2 separate regions of the Homo sapiens genome follow, and region 2 is linked to region 1. Evidence: promoter capture Hi-C in human tissues and cell types (Jung and others, 2019). All regions are on one chromosome and are shown on one strand. Each heading gives the region's core, a stretch centred on a gene start or on the middle of the fragment in contact. The rest is flanking DNA. Distances are from core to core; before and after follow the strand shown.

Region 1 (2,911 bases), core at 265-2,764:
ATTTGTATTTTCAGTAGAGACAGGGTTTCACCTTGTTGCCCAGGCTGTTCTCAAACTCCTGGACTCAAGTGATCTGCCCGCCTTAGCCTCCCAAAGTGCTAAGATTACAGGTGTGAGGCACTGCGCCTGGCCTTTACTGTTAACTTAAAACAAAAAATTATAAATTTGAAAAAAGAGGAGACTTTATTTCTTATAAAAGGTTATAGCCTGCAAGGAGGCCATTCCATAGGCTGATAAACATAGCCTCTGGCCTAAGACCAGAGACAGGCACTTGGAAGGCAGAGGGGTTGGGGTAGGAGCTTTATGCTGAACAGTTTGGCCAAACATACATACGTAACAGGTTACAGGAGGAGCTATGAATATTAATGGAGGTGGTCCTTACACATGCATATTGAACAAACATGCATGTAACATGTTCTCTTTGGGGTGGAGACTTAACATTTAATTGTATTACTTCAAATACATTTAAATGTATTACTTCAAACCTACACTTCAAAAGGTCTTTTCAGGACGTGAATGCATACAAGTGCACAATCCCTGTACACTGGCCAGAACCGGTCCATGGTCGGTCTTCTTATCATGAAAAAGTTCCTGAAATCAGCCCAGTGAAAGCTGTAGTTCTGGCTGGTGCAACAGGGGTTCAGCTGGTCAGCATCTGTGAACTGATTAAGTTGTAATTGTTTTAATATTGCTTATCTCAAGCCAGTGCTTGTTTAGCCTCTAGAGGAAAAGAAAACCTTTGTGGCAGTTAGACCATAGTTTATTTCTTAAGTGTAGGAGTGTGTGACTTAGGTCCTTTTTATAATTTGATGTCTTATTGCTACAAAGAGTCTGTTCTGTCCGCCTTATGATTTCTATTTTAAACATTAATGCTAGTCAGCTGTTGAGTCTAAATTCCAAAATGGAGGGGGTAGACTTCCCTTCCGGCTGTAGCTAGAAACTCAGCTTTAAGGTTTTTCTGGGGTCTGCTTGGCCAAGGAGGTCCATTCAGTCAGTGAGGGGCTTAGGATTTTATTTTTAGTTTACACCACCTTACAGGTTCCTCCTTAACACCCTTTGATGTCAGAGACAGCCAATTCTCCAGCACTGTGGCTAAGGAGGCTTCGTTAGTAGTTAAAAGCACACACATAACCCTACCCAACGGATCCCTCTCTTCTCTTAACCAAGAGGGCGCACCACTGCCCTACTCAACCTCCCCACAAATAAGGACGAGACACGGGAAGTGTTAAAAGCAAGTGGTGAGTATAAAATCCTCGGAATTTTCTCTTTGAGCAACTAACTAGGTCTGTTACTGAAGCCCTCTGCGAGCTTGGATGCTGGACGAGGGAGAGGGTGAGGCCACCAGGCAATGAGCGCCCTCGGCGGCCGCGTGATCCCGGGGGTGGGGCCCATTTCTGAGTTGGGGCCAGCTCCCCACCCCCAAGAGGCCCCACATTCCGGGCCAGCAGCCCAGAAAGTCCCTCCCCGCAGGCGGAGACAGCCCCAAGAAGTCGACGCCCCGGTCCCGCCGCCCGGCCACTACCCAGAGGGCTGCCGCCGCCTCTCCAAGTTCTTGTGGCCCCCGCGGTGCGGAGTATGGGGCGCTGATGGCCATGGAGGGCTACTGGCGCTTCCTGGCGCTGCTGGGGTCGGCACTGCTCGTCGGCTTCCTGTCGGTGATCTTCGCCCTCGTCTGGGTCCTCCACTACCGAGAGGGGCTTGGCTGGGATGGGAGCGCACTAGAGTTTAACTGGCACCCAGTGCTCATGGTCACCGGCTTCGTCTTCATCCAGGGCATCGGTACTGGCACCTCCTGGGGGGGTGCGGGGAGGAAAGCGGGGAGAACGGCGGGGGCAGAGGGTCCTCCGTGAAGCCCCTTCCAGCTGAGGAAGTGCTGGAGGATCGCGGGGCCCGGAGGAGTGCGGTGAGGAGCGCGCGGGAAGCCAAGTCGGCTGGGCGGGAGGGAGGCTGGCTGGCTCTGGGGCGGGACAGAGCTGCGGTTCAGGAGGATCGCCGCGAGCGCGGGGCCGGGGGTGCGCGGTGGAGACGCGCTGCTGGGGGCGGCGGAGCGGGGCCGGCCCCACTTGGTTAACTCTTTGCGGCGACTGGCTAGGACGCACTGGAGGGGCCTCCAAGACCCAGAAACTTGAGCCCGGGCGCGATGCCGGAGCGCCGCGCAGTCGGGCCGCTGCAGCCCACGCGCCCCGGAAAGTCGCCCCTGTGGACCGAGCCTGCGCGATCGGGGGCGCGGAAACACTTTCGCCTCAGCCTTTTGCTGAACTTGCTTCCAGGCTGCAGATGAGGAGGGGAAGGCAGCGGGGAAAAGATTGCCGGAGCGAGAATTTGCCCGTATTTGTAACATCCTCGGCCCTGGGTAAAGGGGCTGGCCAAGGGGGGCGAGTGAAGCATCCGCCCTGGGTTCCTCTCCTCCTAGAGTGTTAAACTCAGTCGAGTCCGGGAAGCTGCCAGGACTTCCAAGTGTGTTTCGCCGCCCTGCCCAGTCATTGGACGGTCTTGAGCCCGACTTGTTTATGTGGCAGAAGAGTGGCGAAAGTTCCCCCGCGGGGCTTCCTATTGGGCACTGGCCCAGCACTCCGGGTGGGAGATGCCCGGAGAGGGCCCGCGGCTGCCTGGCACCGAGGGATGCCTCTGCTCGGGATGCCCCCGGCGCAAGCTGCGTCCGTGTTTGGCCCGCGGCGAGCCAGCCCCGGGCCTGCATTCTCTGGGCTGAGGCTGGCGCGGGGGAGGGGCTCAGCAGTCGCTGGCAATGTTTGTTGTCATTGTGTAGTGCCTCTCAATGTCCTGACTGCTTCCTTCGGTTTGCCGTGTAGCTGGAGGAACCTCTAGCTTTTGGCGCAAACACCATTTATTTGTAACCACTTCCCCAAAGGCACGGCCTTCAGAAAGTAGTTAGAGAAAGGCAGCAAGGGGT
Region 2 (2,911 bases), core at 112-2,611, 540 kb before region 1:
ACAACAGTTATGGAGGCAAGGGAAACAGGCCCTTGAAAAGAAGGCAATGTGGAGTGGGTAGCCTCCGTATTGATTAAGAAGGGGACGGACTTAGCCTCCACTGTGAAAGTTACTTAAAGTTCGGCGTCCGTGATGGTCTATGGGGCTTCCGAGGCGATCGGGCAGCGTCAGTCTTCAGCCGCTAAGCCAAGAAGATCTGGGAAGGAGTCAGAGAGCCTTCGGCCAGAGTTCCAGGGGCTCTGAGAGTGGCTGCCAGGTGAGTTGAACAGTCTGATTTCCAGTGGGGTCCTGCACAGATGGGACACGGCTTAGGAGGAATTCTGGGCTGTGGGCATTCCTTGACCTGGTGGCCAGATTTCTGGCACTTGTAGCAAGCTTCTGGGGGAGGCGGGCCTGGAGGAATGCCTGGCCACTGCGGTTTAGGCGTTGGGAAGTTCTTGTGTGCTGGAGATGTGGCTGGGGTTTGTCTCACAGTGGAGGCAAGGAATTGCAACTCAGAAATATGTTGCTATTTGGCTGCCTCTATTATTGTACACCTTGAAGGCGAGGTTAATTAAGTCCTGTTGTGGAGTTTGAGGGCTGGAATTTAATTTTTGGAGTTTTATTTAATGTCAGGAGCAGATTGGGTAATAAAATGCATATTGAGAATAAGATGGCCTTTTGACCTTTTAGGGGCTAGGGCTGTAAAGTGTCTCAGGGTTGCTGCCAAACGAGCCATGAACTGGGCTGGGTTCTTATATTTGATGAAAAAGAGCCTAAACGCTATCTGATTTGGGATAAAGAAAAAGGAGCATTAACCTTGACTATGCCTTTAGCTCCAGCCACCTTTTTAAGAGTAAATTGCTGGGCAGGTGGGGGAGGGCTAGTCATGGAACGAAACTGTAAGCCGGACCCGGTGTGAGGAGGGGAGGTGATAAAAGGATTATAGGGTGGAGGAGCAGAGGCTGAGGAAGAATTGGGACCTAGCTTGGCCTGGTGAGGAGCAGCCTGGGGAGGAGGGGAGAGGTCAGATGGGTCTGTAGAAAAGGAAGATTAGAAAGACTCAGCGACACTTCGGGTTGGGACTGAGGGGACAGGCGGGAGGGAAAGAAGGAAGATTTGGGGTGAGTTGCATTGGGCACAGACTAGGGAGGGACTGATGTGTAAAAGAATGCCTGGATATCAGGCAGCTCAGACCGTTTGCCTATTTTACGACAAGAATTATTTAGATCTTGCAGGATGGAAAAATTGAAAGTGCCGTTTTCTGGCTATTTGGAACTACTGTCAAGTTTGTATTGCGGTCAAGCAGCATTGCAGAAGAAAATAAGACATTTAGGTTTTAGGTCCAGCGTGAGTTGAAGAGGTTTTAAGTTCTTGAGAGCACAGGCGAAGGGAGACAGAGGAATGGAGGGTGGAATGTTGCCCGTAGTGAAGGAGGCAAGCCTAGAGAAAAGAGAGAGTAGAGACACGGAGGAAAGGGGTTCGGGGGTTCTTAACTTCCAGAAAAGCGTGAAAGGGGTCGGGGCATGGAAATAAGGGGTTGGGGCGCAGAGATAAGAGGTCGGGGTGTGGAAATAAGGGATGGGGCACAGAAATAAGAGGTCAGGGTGCAGAAATAAGGGATTGGGGCACAGAGATAAGAGGTCGGGGCATGGAAATAAGGGATTGGGGGTTCTTGCCCCTTAGAAAAGTGGGACTTGCTGCTAAGGGTGAGGGAGAAGGGGTTGAGGGGTTCTTGCCTCTCCCCCAGAAAAGCAGAGAAGGGGTAGAGACACGGAGAGAAGGGGTTGGGGTACTTGCTCCTCCCCCAGAAAAGCGGGACTTGCCGCTAAGGGTGAAGGACCAAGGCAGGCATCCTTGCATGGTCTGACACCTCTGAAACGTGGGTGAATAATCAGACAGGTGTCCCTGCAATGATTAAACACCAAGGAAAGCCTGCCTTCCCAGTCCGTGACCGACGCTGGAGTTTGGGTTCATGGATAAAACGTGTCTCCTTTGTCGCTACCAGAAAATGAAAGGAATTGAAATTAAGAGAAGGGAGAGATTGAAGTGTGGTGCCAAGATTGAAAGGAGAAAGAGGTTGAGGGATAGTGAGAGAGGTTGGAGAAGACAGTAAAAAGAGACTGCTTACTCGATTTGAAATTGGTGAGGTGTTTCTTGGGCTGGTCGGTCTGAGGACCTGAGGTCGTAGGTGGATCTTTCTCACAGAGCAAAGAGCAGGAGGACAGGGGATTGATCTCCCAAGGGAGGTACCCTGATCCGAGTCATGGCACCAAATTTCATTCGCGTCCGTGTGAAGAGACCACCAAACAGGCTTTGTGTGAGCAATAAAGCGTTTAATCACCTGGGTGCAGGTGGGCTGAGTCCGAAAAGAGAGTCAGCGAAGGGAGATAGGGGTGGGGCCGTTTTATAGGATTTGGGTAGGTAAAGGAAAAAGGGGGGTTGTTCTCTGGCGGGCAGGAGTGGGGGGTCACAAGGTACTCAGTGGGGGAGCTTTTGAGCCAGGATGAGCCAGGAGAAGGAATTTCACAAGACAATGTCATCAGTAAAGGCAGGAACAGGCCATTTTCACTTCTTTTGTGGTGGAATGTCATCAGTTAAGGCTGGAACCAGCCATCTGGATGTGTACATGCAGGTCACCGGGGATATGATGGCATAGCTTGGGCTCAGAGGCCTGACAGTTTCTGAATAGTGGGTTGGGGATTTCAGACTCTCAAAACACAAGAACATTGTAAGAAAATTTGACATTTAAAACTTATTAAGCCTCACTTTGTTACTTTTATTTTTTAAAAGATGTTGATGGATTATAGAATTAGTGATGTTTAATCCAGTTGAGTTTTGGAGTCAGCCAGTCTCGAGTTAAATCCCATCCCTGCTACTTCACTATTTGAGCAAACAACTTAATCTGTCTCCAATGCACCCCTCCCCTCTT

The links. Contacts are between HindIII fragments. The study calls those that stand out against the background at their distance.
Region 2: a contact is called between a fragment that was not itself captured here and the fragment with the promoter of CYBRD1 in region 1, in 1 of the 25 tissues and cell types used here (H1 embryonic stem cells).

Annotation. Positions count from the first base shown.
Region 1 is chr2:171,520,960-171,523,870 of GRCh38, forward strand. CYBRD1 (cytochrome b reductase 1) reads left to right here and starts at 1,515. Exons shown (of 4, transcript NM_024843.4): 1 at 1,515-1,779. The coding sequence starts at 1,587. RefSeq lists an enhancer at 1,604-1,713 and silencers at 1,824-1,933, 2,084-2,153. The HindIII fragment of the contact is 9,103 bases long and covers 1-2,911 here.
Region 2 is chr2:170,980,728-170,983,638 of GRCh38, forward strand. No RefSeq gene overlaps it. Among named protein-coding and RNA genes, the nearest start is that of GORASP2, 53 kb to the left of the region's middle. The HindIII fragment of the contact is 3,070 bases long and covers 1-2,896 here.